4 separate regions of the Homo sapiens genome follow, and all the other regions are linked to region 3. Evidence: promoter capture Hi-C in 16 types of primary human blood cells and fetal thymus (Javierre and others, 2016). All regions are on one chromosome and are shown on one strand. The core of a region is centred on a gene start or on the middle of the fragment in contact, and the rest is flanking DNA. Distances in the headings are between cores, read along the strand shown.

What was found. The method cuts DNA at HindIII sites, captures the fragments that hold promoters and counts their contacts. A CHiCAGO score of 5 or more calls a contact.
Region 1: the fragment with the promoter of CD300C here is called in contact with the fragment with the promoter of GPR142 in region 3 in 7 of 17 cell types (M2 macrophages, M0 macrophages, megakaryocytes and 4 more); the score reaches 6.8 in M2 macrophages.
Region 2: a fragment that was not itself captured here is called in contact with the fragment with the promoter of GPR142 in region 3 in 1 of 17 cell types (fetal thymus); the score reaches 5.2 in fetal thymus.
Region 4: a fragment that was not itself captured here is called in contact with the fragment with the promoter of GPR142 in region 3 in 13 of 17 cell types (megakaryocytes, naive CD8 T cells, total CD4 T cells and 10 more); the score reaches 11.4 in megakaryocytes.

Annotation. Positions count from the first base shown.
Region 1 is chr17:74,544,190-74,547,520 of GRCh38, forward strand. CD300C (CD300c molecule) reads right to left here and starts at 1,926. Exons shown (of 4, transcript NM_006678.5): 1 at 1,533-1,926; 2 at 420-758. The coding sequence starts at 1,593. It also overlaps a transcript of LOC107985074 not described here. The HindIII fragment of the contact is 25,491 bases long and covers 1-3,331 here.
Region 2 is chr17:74,508,760-74,512,192 of GRCh38, forward strand. No RefSeq gene overlaps it. Among named protein-coding and RNA genes, the nearest start is that of CD300LB, 21 kb to the right of the region's middle. The HindIII fragment of the contact is 7,162 bases long and covers 1-3,433 here.
Region 3 is chr17:74,365,722-74,368,799 of GRCh38, forward strand. GPR142 (G protein-coupled receptor 142) reads left to right here and starts at 1,785. Exons shown (of 4, transcript NM_001331076.1): 1 at 1,785-2,073. RefSeq lists an enhancer at 2,399-3,078. The HindIII fragment of the contact is 12,679 bases long and covers 617-3,078 here.
Region 4 is chr17:74,526,206-74,529,370 of GRCh38, forward strand. All of the region lies in intron 1 of CD300LB (CD300 molecule like family member b), which reads right to left. The region is part of intron 1 of LOC107985074 (a long non-coding RNA gene); the gene reads left to right. Among named protein-coding and RNA genes, the nearest start is that of CD300LB, 3.7 kb to the right of the region's middle. RefSeq lists an enhancer at 2,320-2,389. The HindIII fragment of the contact is 226 bases long and covers 1,686-1,911 here.

The DNA of each region.
Region 1 (3,331 bases), core at 676-3,175, 180 kb after region 3:
CCCAGGCGGGACAGTGGGCACCCTTCAGTATGGATCCGGCCCTTGTCAATACAGGGAGGTAGCAAGGACCCCAGAGTCAGGGGTGGCCTCACAGACCCCACCCAGGAAAGTTTCAGGCCTGAGGCCGTGAGGGAGGGCCCACAGCGGGGGGTCTCCAGCCACAGGGCCAGGGTGCTTTTGTGGGCGCCCACCCTCCCAACACACACATGCAGGTGCACACACACACAAACCACACCACAACTCCTATGCAGGCACGCATACACAAAGACGCACTCACACTCATCCACACACAGCGGCACACAGTGTCCTGACTCACCAACCCCCAGGCTCACACCCTCCTGTTCCACTTCTTTCTTCAGGGACAGAATGACCAGCCCTAGGCTCAGGCAGGCCTGGTGCTGAGAAAAGGAGGGGCTCACCCGGGAACACGGACACCTCAACCTCGACAATGGGATCATGAAAGTCTCGGAGCCACGGTGTATCCACCCCACACCAGTAGGTGCCTGCGTCCTCCTCTGTGAGATTCTCCAGGGTCACTGTGAAGCTGAGGTTTGCAGGACTGTCCCTGATGGACACTCGGCCATTCCTTTTCCCTGCTGACCCTTTGGTCTCCACAATCTTGTCACATCGGAGAATCTGTGGTGGTCTGCACCAGAATTTGTTGAGGGTCCTGTGTTCCTTCTCATAGCGACACTGCACACTCAGGGATCCCCCCACGGGGCCCGCCACGGTCATGGGGTGGCTCAGAGGAAAATAGCCTGAAAAATACAAGCCAAAATCCTGTCTCCTTACCAGAGGGGCCTGGTCAGGGGTGCCGCAGTGTCAGCCCCTCATGGACCCTGGGCGTGTGGAGAAGGCAATGGCAGGCAGGCAGCCTTTGTCCACCCAGGAACAGGGACTGAGGGTGGGAGGCTCCCTCTGTGCAGAGGTGGGAAGGGCATGGGAAGTTTCCATGGAGACTGGAAAGGCAAGGCTAGGGAAACACTGGGTGTGTGCGGGCCTGTGTGTGCATGTGAGTGTGACTCTGTGTGTGTGACTGTGTGAGTGTGACTGTCTGTGTGAGTGTGACTGTGTGTGACTGTGTGTGCATGTGTGACTGTGTGTGCATGTGAGTGTGACTGTGTGTGCATGTGTGACTGTGTGCATGTGTGTGTGAGACTGTGTGAGTGTGACTGTGTGTGCATGTGTGTGAGACTGTGTGAGTGTGACCGTGTGTGCGTGTGAGTGTGACTGTGTGTGTGATCGTCCCAGATAAAATTTGTGATTGGATAACTTTGGCAATGACAGTCACAGCATCACCTCCCACCAGGGCTTCCTGTCTCGGGCACAGAGGAATAGGCCTCCCCCGTGCTGTGCCCTGCCGCCTGCTGTCCCCTGGTGAGGCAGCTGCTGACCGCTCCTGGGTGCTCCTTTGCCCTCCTCCCCTCTCCCTGCCCCACTCCCCTCTATGACCGCTACTCCAGCGCCTGCACCCCTCCCTGCCCTCTCCCACTCAGGACAGAGCTCCCCAAGTCCAGGGTCGGCCCACTCACCTGGGACAAGCAGGAGGAGCAGAGCTGAAGACCGCCACGAGGCCCAGGCCCTGGCAGTCATTCCTGTAACACGAATGTCACCTGCCACTGTGCAAGACCCCAGGAGGGGACAAAATGTAATCTCCTCCCAGCAGATCTGAGCTTCGCTTCTGCTTTTCTTCTGCTCTCTGCTTCCTTGTCCAGCCCTGTCTCAGGTCTGAGGCTGGAGAGGGTCAGGGTACAGGAAGCTCAGGGAGAGAGCCGCCTGGGCTGAGGCCGGTGCTGACAGCTCTGGGATGGTGCTAGTGGCTCCTCTCAACCCTGACGTCTGGCAAAGTCCAGGGTCCCTTGGGTGGCGATGCAGCCACTTCCCCACAGCCCACAGCTTCTGGCTTCAGTGTGTTACTCACACTGCAGAAGGCAGAGCCAAGCTGGGCCATTTCCTACCACATGGGCTGCTCCACCCTCTGTGACATGTCACTTCCTGGTCAGGATGGACAATCTTGTGGTTGGAGGCTAAATCTGCCACCTTCTTTAGCCTTGGAGGTGACCAGAGAGAGGTTGTGTCCCTTAATCTTCAGCTAGGTCCCCGCAGAGACCTCTGCCCCTAAGACCCCCAGCTCTTCTTCTGGCCTCAGAAGTTAGCGCTATGAACCCAGACACCATCTGCATGTCCCTTTTTGGTGCTGAGTCCCCAACCAGGTTAAAATCCCACAGGCTTGGGGAGTTTTCCTCTTGTGCCCCTGCCCCCAGACCTACACACACAGCGGCATCACCCACCCGAGACCCTCCTTTTCCATCTTGTCTTCTTGCCAAAATCCATGCCCCAGTGGGAATCAGGGCAGAGAACTGAGAATAGAGAGAGAGTTCAGACATGTGAAGATGCTGAAGTGGGACTTTGTGGAGGATGTGAGGCTGCGACTGAGCCAGCACACACCCCAGGGCACACGGAGGGGTGTTTGGTGACTGAGAGGACAGTTTGTCATGAGCAGCGGCTGCTGGTGTCTATCCTGGGTCCACTGTGATGGCCAGGGGCCTCCGCAGGGAGCAGACATGGCAGACAGGCCTTCCCAGGAGGCGGGAACCCAGGTCTATCCACACTCGGCATGGCTGGTTCTCCTGACGTGATGGGCTCAGGGTGTCTTTACCCTGGAAAGGGCAAGGAGGCTAGTCAGACACAGGATTTACCTCCTGTCTGTCCTGGAGGGCATCACCCCTTCTCCACCTTCTCATGCCTTAAGCATATTCCTTGACTCTCCCAACCCTCCTACAGATTTCTGTTCCTTTCTTCCTATCAGAGTCAATAGCACCAGTATGTGCACACAGCCATGAGGTTGAGTGGAGAGTGATGGGAGTCTGGGCAAACCTGGCACCATGAAGGGGTCTCTGCACCCTCGACCTGCCCTGTCCTCCCTCCATTTACACTCTCAGGGACACAGCATGCACTGGGGTCATTGGTGTTGATGCCCCCAGACTCACATCATGGGACTATCTCTAGCCCAGTGCAATCCCAGGGCCTCCAATTAGCCCAGTGCTCAGGTCTGGCCTGGGCCTGGCTTTGAAGTATCCCGGCTCTTTCATGGGCTGACCTGGTCTCCCCTTCTGCTCATACCCACCCCTTTCATTCTCCACAGAATCAGCAATGTGATCCCTGACACACACACATGGCCCTGGGGAGGCGCTGCTGAACTCCCAATGGCTCCTGCTGTCACAGGATGGCACCCACCTGACCTGGCCTCTGCACACAGGTCCTGGCAGGCCCCAGCACCTGGTAGGTGTCTCCAGCCTCCTGGATCCAGGTTCACACTGGTGCTGCCACC
Region 2 (3,433 bases), core at 268-2,767, 140 kb after region 3:
GTTTAGGAATGTATCCACTTCTAGGTTTTCCAATTTATTGGCATATAGCTGCTCATAGTAGCCTCTAATGATCCTTTTAATTTGTTGATATCAATTGTAATGTCTCCTTTTTCATCTCTGACTTTATTTATTTGGGTCTTCTCTATTTTTTTCTTTTTTAGTCAGGCTAAAGACTTGCCAATTTTGTTTATCTTTTCAACAAAATGACTTTTAGTTTCATTGATCTTTTGTATTTCCTTCATTTCCATTTCATTTATTTTAGTTTCATTGATCTTTTGCATTTGCATTTTCTTCATTTCAATTTCATTTATTTCTGCCCTGATCTTTATTATTTCTTTATTTCTACTAATTTTGGGTTTGCTTCACTCTTGCATTTCTAGTTCTTTAAGATGCATCATTAGGTTGTTTATTTGAGGTTTTTCTACTTTTTTTGATGTAGATACTCAATACTGCTTTCACTGTATCCCATAGATTTTATTGTGTTGTGTTTCCATTTTCATTTGTTTCAAGAAATTTTTAAATTTCCTTCTTACTTTTTTTCATTAACCCACTAGTTATTCAGGGGCATATTGTTTAATTTCCATGTTTTGTATAGTTTTCAAAATTCTTCTTGTTATTGATTTCTAGTTTTATTCTTTGTGGTCACTGAAGACACTTGATATGATTTCAATTATTTTGAATATTTCAAGACCTGTTTTGTGGCCTAACATATGGTCTATCCTTGAGAATGATCCATGTGCTGAGGAGAAGACTGTGTATCTGCAGCTGCTGAATGAAATGTTCTTTTAAATATCTATTAGGTCCATTTGGTCTATAGTACAGATTAAGTCCAACGTTTCTTTGTTGATTTTCTGTCTGGATGCACTGTCCAATGCTGAAAGTGTAGTGTAGAAGTCTCCAGCAATTATTGTATTGAGGATATATTATTTTAGCTATAAAGATATTTGCAATATATATCTGAGTGCTCCACTGTTGGGTGCATATATACTTACAATTGCTATATCCTCTTGTTGAATTGATTTCTTTATTATTATATAATGTTCTTCTTTGTCTCTTTTTATAGTTTTGTCTTAAAATCTATGTAATGTGATATAAGTATAGCTATTCATACTCTTTTTTGGTTTCCATTTGCATGAAATATCTTTTTCGATTCCTTTAATTCACCTATTTATGTCTTTATAGGTGAAGTGTGTTTCTTGTAGGCAACAGATCTTGGGTCTAGTTTTTCTTTTTAATCCATTCAGCTGCTCCATGTCTTTTGACTGAAGTGTTTAGTCCATTTACATTCAATGTTATTATTGATAACTAAAGACTACTCCTGCCCTTTTGTTACTTGTTTACTGGTTGTTTTCTGGCCTTCTCTTCCTTCCTTCTTTCTTTTCTTCTTGTCTTCTTTTTACTGAAGCTGATTTTGTCTGGTGATATGTATTAATTTCTTACTTTTTATTTTTTGTGTATCTGTTGTATGTGTATGTTTTTGAGTTGATATTACCATGAGGCTTGGAAATAATATCTTATAACTCATTATTTTAAGCTGATGACAACTTAACACTGATTGTAATAACAAGCTAACAAACAAGCAAATATAAGGCTAATAGAAAAAAACTCTACACTTGAACTTCATCCCCCCACTTTTTAATTTTTTGTTGTTTCTATTGATACCTTATTATACTCTCAATGTCTTAAATGTTGCTTTAGGCTGGGTGCGGTGGCTCACACCAGTAATCTCAGCACTTTTGGAAGCCAAGGTGGGCAGATCACTGGAGCCCAAGAGTTCAAGACCAGCCTGGGCAACATGGCAAAAACTTGTCCCTCCTAAAAATACAAAAAATAGCCGGGTGTAGTGGTGTGCACCTGTAGTCCCAGCTACTCAGGAGGCTGAGGTGGGAGGATCACTTGAGCCAGGGAGGCAGAAGTTGCAGTGAGCCAAGGTCATGTCACTACACTCCAGGCCTGGACAACAAAGTAAGACCCCATCTCAAAAAAAAAAAGCATAGTTATTATTTTTTATATATTTTATAGGTTCTTCTTTTAGTCTTTCTACTCAAGATATAAGTGATTTACACACAATTTCAGGGGTTAGAATCTGTTTTTCTGTGTACTTACTATTAATAGTGAGATTTGTACCTTCAGATGATTTCTTACTGCTCATTAACATCCTTTTCTTTAAGATTGAAGAACTCCCTTTAGCCTTTAGCACTTCTTTCTTTTTTTATTTTTATTTATTTATTTGTTTTAAGATGGAGAGTCTCACTCTGTCACCCAGGCTGGAGTGCATGGCACAATCTCAGCTCACTGCAAACTCTGCCTCCCGGGTTCAAGTGATTCTCGAGCCTCAGCCTCCCAAGTAGCTGGGATTACAGTCATGCACCACCATGCCCTGCTAATTGTTGTATTTTTAGTGGAGACAGGTTTCACCATGTTGTCCAGGTTGGTCTCAAACTCCTGACCTCAAGTCCCTTTAGCATTTCTTATAGGACAGGTCTAGTGTTGATAAAATTGCTCAACTTTTGTTTGTCTGAGAAAGTATTTCTCCTTCATGTTTGAAGGGTATTTTCACTAGATATACTATTCTACGATAAAAGTTTTTTCCTTCAACACTTAAATACCACTCTCTCCCAGCCTGTAAGATTTCCCTCAAGAAGCCTACTGCCAGAAGTTTTGGAGCTCCCTTTTATGTTACTTATTTCTCTTCTCTTTCTGTTTTTAGGACCCTTTTTTTTATCCTTGACTTTTGGGAGTTTTTTTATTAAGTGTCTTGAGATAGTCTTATTTGGGTTAAATCTGCTTGGTTTCTGGAACCTTCTGGTATTTGAACACTGATATCTTTATCTAGGTTTGGGAAGTTCTCTGTAATTATCCCGTTGATAAAACTTTCTATCCTGATCTGTCTCTACCTTCTCTTAAGGCCAGTAACGCTTAGATTTGCCCTTTTGAGACTATTTTCTAGATCTTATAGGCATGTTTCATTCTTTCTCATTCTTTTTCTTTTGTCTCCTCTGACTCTGTATTTTCAAATAACCTGTCTTCAAGCTCAGTAATTCTTTCTTTGGCTTGGTCAATTCTGCTGTTAGGAGATTCTGATGCATTCTTTGGTGTGTCTATTTCATTTTTCAGCTCTGGAATTTCTGCTTAATTCTTTTTTATTATTTTGATCTCTTCATTAAATTTATGTGATAGGATTCTGAATTCCTTCTCTGAGTTATCTTGGATTTCACTGAGCTTCCTCAAAACAGCTATTTTGAATTCTCTGTCTGAAAGGTCCCTGTTTCTCCAGGATTGGTCCCTGGTGCCTTATTTGGTTGTTTGCTGAGGACATGTTTTCCTGAATTGTCTGACTGGCCCTGTGGCCTGAGTCACATTTCAGCTGAAGTCCCAGGCTGCTGCCAACACCTCCATGGCCTGGCAGTCTTCCACTGGAGTTCAAGTTACA
Region 3 (3,078 bases), core at 535-3,034:
TTGTATTTTTAGTAGAGACGGGGTTTCACCATGTTGGCCAGGATGGTCTCGATCTCCTGACCTCGTGATCTGCCCGCCTCGGCCTCCCCAAAGTGCTGGGATTACAGATGTGAGCCACCATGTCCAGCCCATGCTGTCTTTTTGGGGAAGTTTTTCCAATTGTGATAAGTGATCCCTTTGGACAAGGAATCTCTAGTACTGTAAAAGCAACGGAAAACTCTTGCAAGCTTGGGACCAGATAAAGAGTTTCTGAATCTGCAAAGGGGGTGATCAGACACTGGACTGTGGTAACACCTCAGAGGGGTGGGCTCCAGACGCAGCCTGGCCCTACCTGGCACCCTCCCTTGCATCTGTAGTGCCTCCTGTCCTGACTTAGGGTTCCCTGAGTCACTGGGCCACTTGGACTGGGGACAGGAGATCATGGGTTTAAGTTCCAGGCCCCGTGTACACAGGGGAGCACATAAAGGTAAATATGAGGCCGGGCATGATGTCTCACACCTTTAATTCCAGCACTTTGGGAGGCTGAGGCGGGTGGATCACTTGAGGTCAGGAGTTCAAGCCCAGCCCGGGCAACATGGTAAAACCCCGTCTCTACTAAAACTACAAATATTAGCCAAGCTTGGTGGCTGGTGACTGTAATCCCAGCTACTTGGGAGGCTGAGGCAGGAAAATCGCTTGAACCCGGGAAGCAGAGGTTGCAGTGAGCTGAGATTGCACCCCTGCACTCCAGCCTGGGCAACAGGGTGAGACTCTGTCTCAAACAAACAAAAACTTAAATAAGAAGGAATCCTTGGCCAGGTGTGGTGGCTCACATCTGTAATCCCAGCACTCTGGGAGGCCGAGGCAGGTGGATTGCATGAGCCCAGGAGCTCGAGACCAGCCTAGGCAACATGGCGAAACACCGTCTCTACAAAAAATACGAAAATTAGCTGGGCGTGTTGGTGCTTGCCTGTAATGCCAGCTATTTGGGAGGCTGAGATGGGAGGATCACTTGAGCCTGGGAGTTCGAGGCTGCAGTGAGCTATGATCACACCACTGTACCACAGCCTGGGTGACAGAGTGAGACCCTGTCTTGAGGGGTAGGGAGGCAGAAGGAAAAAAAAGAGAGAGAGAGACCCTGGTGCTCAGGCCTGGTGGCTCTGGCTGGACTGATCAGGGCTGAAGACTTCAGAGACCAAAAAGGTCAAGGTGTGGCCGGGTGCGGTGGCTCACACCTGTGATCCCAGCATTTTTGGGAGACCCAGGTGGGCATATCACCTGAGGCCAGGAGCTCAGGACCAGCCTGGCTAACACGGTGAAACCCCGTCTCTACTAAAAATACAAAAATTAGCCAGGCATGGTGGCAGGCACCTGTAATCCCAGCTACTTGGGAGGCTGAGGCAGGAGAATCACTGGAACCCAGGAGGCAGAGGTTGCAGTGAGCCGAGATAGCACCATTGCACTCCAGCCTGGGTGACAGAGCGAGACTCTGTCTCAAAAAGAAAAGAAAAAAAAAGTCAAGGTGTGCGGCTGGGTCTTCATAACATCTTTCACCTTGCCCAGGCTGGCTCAGAGGTGACTGCCTTAGTGGATAGGATCCCTTCCACCGTGGGCTAGCAGCCTACCCTGGTCACTGACACCACACCATGTAGGAAAGAATCGCCACCACCAAGAAGGGGCCTCTCACCTCTGTATAGGCTGTGTGCTGGCTGATGACGTGGTTGCCCTGTCCTGTCTGCTGCTGCCACTGAGCTGGACATCTCCAGGCTCCATCTCTTGAACCATGGATCCCAGCGTTGTTAGCAATGAGTATTATGATGTTGCCCATGGAGCAAAAGATCCAGTGGGTCCCCACTTCCCTGCAGGACATCACTGCTGTCCTGGGTACAGAAGCATATACTGAGGAAGACAAATCAATGGTGTCCCATGCACAGAAAAGCCAGCATTCTTGTCTCAGCCATTCCAGGTGGCTGAGGTCTCCACAGGTCACAGGGGGAAGCTGGGACCTCCGAATAAGGCCATCCAAGGACTCCAGCAGTTTCCGCCAGGTGAATCCAGCTGCCTCCCAGAACAGGCCTTCTATGGGGTGGGATGGTAAGTTGCTGGAAGGACGTGCATGGGGCATCATTGTAGCAAACTCAGTCCCCCTCCTCCATCTCTCCCTCTCCTCGCTCTGAATCCAGGGAGCTCTAGTTTTCTGTGTAGCCTGTGTGACAGCCTTGGTTGAAACCCTTGTGTTCCGTCTGAAGAATATTTAAGGTTTCCAGTCAAGTGTACATCCCTCAAAGAAACAAAGTGGGCTTGGCATGGTGACTCACACCTGTAATCCCAGCTCTTTGAGAGGCCAAGGCAGAAGGACCACTTGAAGCCTGGAGTTCCAGACCAGCCTCGGCAACACAGCGAGGCCCCAAACTCTCTCTATATCTATACATAAAATTTAAAAAACAAAGTGTAGGGACAGGGTGGGCACTCGGTAAATGTTGGCAGGGACCCTCCTTGCCCCTCACCCATGGCAGCTCCTTGAAGAGAGGGTCAGCCTCCTCTCACCCCTAGCCTCCTGCTGCAAGGAGGTGGTGGCCTGGGGCGTCATCTGTGCTACTTGCACTTTCTGGGGCTGGGGTCCCAGCACTCCACCAGAGGACCTGCCCTGAGCGGGCAGCTCCGTCTCCAGTCCCACTGTGCCACCCAGGGTGCCTAGCCAAACCATGGGACTTTCAGGCTTGCAGGGTCAGGATGTGGCCACCAGGGGGCAGCAGGGCCTGCGCTGTGAGTATCCGAGGGGGGGTTGGGATGGGGAGTTCCAGGCTCTGATGTGAGATCTAACTCCCAGAGCTGGGAAGCTCCCTATATTTCCTGCCATATTTTCTGCTGCATTCCCAGAGGACAGGCCATGGGAGGTGATTCCAGGGGGGCCTGAGCTCTCCTCCCGAGACCGTCCACGGGGCATCCATGTCCCGGGTACCTGCTTGTGGGCTGCTCTGGTCACTCTTCCTCTAGGGCAGGAGAGCCAGTCTGGCCTCTTCTGAGTGCACACCAGCAACGGCTGTTGTTTATTTGCCAGGGATTGATATTCTTGAGGGATGGTCCATTTCACCAGGG
Region 4 (3,165 bases), core at 549-3,048, 160 kb after region 3:
TGCCTGAGCCAGTTTGGTGTTTAAGAGTCCCGAGTGTGTCTCTAGCACACCCGATTCCTCATCCCCATCTCCCTCTCAGTCCATTCCCCCACCAGCTTCTAGACCTGCTTAGCATGTGACACCATGGTCTCCTACCACCTTCTTTCCTTGTCCTCTCAATGCTGTTTTCATCGGAGCCAAATATTTAACAACCAGCCCTCTGGGGGAAAAAATCTCTGGTTTAGGAGCTGGGCACGGTGGCTCACACTTGTAATCCCAGCACTTTGGGAAGCCAAGGTGGGCAGATCACCTGAGGTCAGGAGTTCGAGACCTGCATGGCCAACATGGTGAAACCCAGTCTTTACTAAAAATACAAAAATTAGCTGGGCGTGGTGGCAGTCACCTGTAGTCTCAGCTATGCGGGAGGCTGAAGCATGAAAATTGCTTGAACCCGGGAGGCGGAGGTTGCAGTGAGCTGAGATCGCACCACTGCACTCCAGCCTAGGCAACAGAGTGAGACTCTTGTCTAGAAAAAGAAAAAGAAAAAAAATCTGGTTTTAATATTTGCCAAATTCCATAGTGTAAATACTCCCACGGTGGCAGATGTCAGGTAATCCATGTGATGTCACTGGACACAGAGCTGGGAAAAGATGTCCCAAGCCAGCTCCTGTGAGCCAGCCCCAGCACACTGCGGGGGTACCCAGGGTTCCCTCTCCAGCCTTCATCTTGTCTCACCTGACAAGCCTCCATGGAGGGAGTCTCTCCATTTCCATGGCTTTAATGATTACCTGTTTCCTGATGATTCCCAAATCCATATTTGCAGCTCAGACTCCCCTTAGCTAGCCCACCATTTACAAAGACACACTGGATGTCTCCACCCCAGATTCCTTCGTTGCAGAATTGAATGCACTTCCTCTCCCACCCTGAACTACTCTTCTTCAGTATTTTTTTCTAGTGGAGCAATTGGATGTGGCAAGAGTAACAAAGGCCTGGTGAAAGCTGAACAGGTTAGAGGTGAGCATAATCAAATGGCAGTCCGTGCCTCCGCTGATTGACTCCAGTTAGGCTGTGTGTAGATAGGCTCTTTCCTTGGCAATGACACGGGTTTCTTGATCACGCAGAAGTGGATAAACAGGCAGAGAATCACAGGGGAAGCCTCTCTTGACTGTCTCTTGGCCTCAGAGCTTCAGGCCCAGGCCAGGGGTCTCTGCAGGGTGGAGAAAGCCAGGTCTATTTCTCCAGGCAGATGCCGCCTCCTCACAGCTTGGGCCTTCTCCTTGAAGCTGTGTTAGTTTTCTTGAACTTTGCATTCGTGGTTGGTAGAATAATGTCCCCCATAGCTGTTGGCATCCTCATACACAGAACCTGCGAATATGTCCCCTGACATGGCCAGAGGGACTCTGCCGATGTGATGAAGTTAAGGACCTTGAGACAGGAAGAATATCCCGAATAATCTCCATGGATATTCTAAGTGAAAGAGGGTTGAGGGAGAGTCCAATTGGAAGATGGTCTGTTGCTGCTTTGAAGTGGAAGAAGAGGCCACCGGCCAAGGAAAGCAGATGGCTTCTAGAAGCTGGAAAATGCAGGGAAACAGATTCTCCCCTAGAATAGGGGTTCCCAACCCCAGGACAACAGACTAGTAACAGCCCATGGCCTGTTAGGAACCGGACCTTACAGCAGGAGGTGAGCGGTGGGCAAGCAAGCGAAGCTTCATCTGTATTTACAGCCACTCCCCGTTGTTCAAACTACCACCTGATCTCCGCCTCCCATCAGACCAGCGGCCGCATTAGATTCTCATAGAAGTGAGAACCCTATTGTGAACTTCGTGTGTGAGGGATCTAGATTGCACACACTTTATGAGACTCTAATGCCTGATGATGTGTCACTGTCTCCCATCACCCCCAGATGGGATCATCTAGTTGCAGGTAAACAAGCTTAGGGCTCCCACTGATTCTACATTATGGTGCAGTGTATAATCATTTCATTATATATTATAATATAATAGTAATATAAAGTATACAATAAGTGTAATGCGTTTGAATCATCCCAAACCATCCTCACCCCACTCCTGATGTGGAAAAATTGTCTTCCACAAAACCGGATCCTGGTGCCAAAAAGGTTGGGGACCACTGCTCTAAAGAAACCCAACCCTACTTGCACCTCAATTTTAACCAGTAAGACCACGCCAGGCTCTGGTCTTCAGAAGCATCAATGAGATGATGAAATTGTGCAGTTCTAAGCCATAGAGTTCATGTTAATTTGTTACAGCAGCCACTGGAAATTCACATGGCATTCAATCAGCAGAACCAACTTGATTCTCTTCAAACCAGCAGCTCCACCACCCAGCCTTCAGGAAGAGCTTGGCATCTTCTTTCATGCTGTCCTCTCCTTCAGCCCCCGAGCTGATTGGTAGCCAGTTTAGTCAGCTCTATCCTAGAGATGCTCCTCAGTTTTTTTTTTTCTTCTTTCAGTCTCTGCCATCGCAGGCCACAAGGACAGCATGACATCAGAGAGAGTGTGAGCTTTGATGCAGAAAGACTTGACACTGAACTAGTTGGGAAACCCTGGCAGAGTTGCTTAACCTCTGCAAGTATCGCTTCCTTATTCATAAGACAGTCATGCTACGCTCTACTTTGAAGGTGGTAATAGGACTTGGATGTGTGTAGGCTGGGCAAGGTGGCTCATGCCTGTAATTCCAAAGCTGTGGGAGGCTGAGGCAGGAGGATCGCTTGAGCCCAGGAGTTCCAGACTAACCTGGGCAACATGGTGAAACCCTGTGTCTGCAAATGCAAAAGATTAGCCAGGAGTGGTGGTGCATGCCTGTGGTCCCCACTGCTTGGGGGGCTGAGGTGGGAGGATCGCCTGAGCCTGAGAGTTCAAGGCTGCAGTGAGTTATAATCGCCCACCACTGCACTTCAGCCTGGGTGACAGAGTGAGACACTGTCTTCAAAAAATTATTTATTTTTAAATTTAAAAGAAGACTTGGATGTATGTCCAACGCCAGACATTTGGGGTTTGCTCTGTCAGTGACAGCTCATCAACAGGTCAGAACTTCATCTGTGCCTGGATCATGGCAGTGGCATCTGGAGAGGTCTTCCCAGCCCCAGCAGCATCCTCCCCAACTCTCCTCTCCTGAGGATTATGGCCTTCATAATCTTGTCTTTTGTGTTTCCAACCTCATATCCA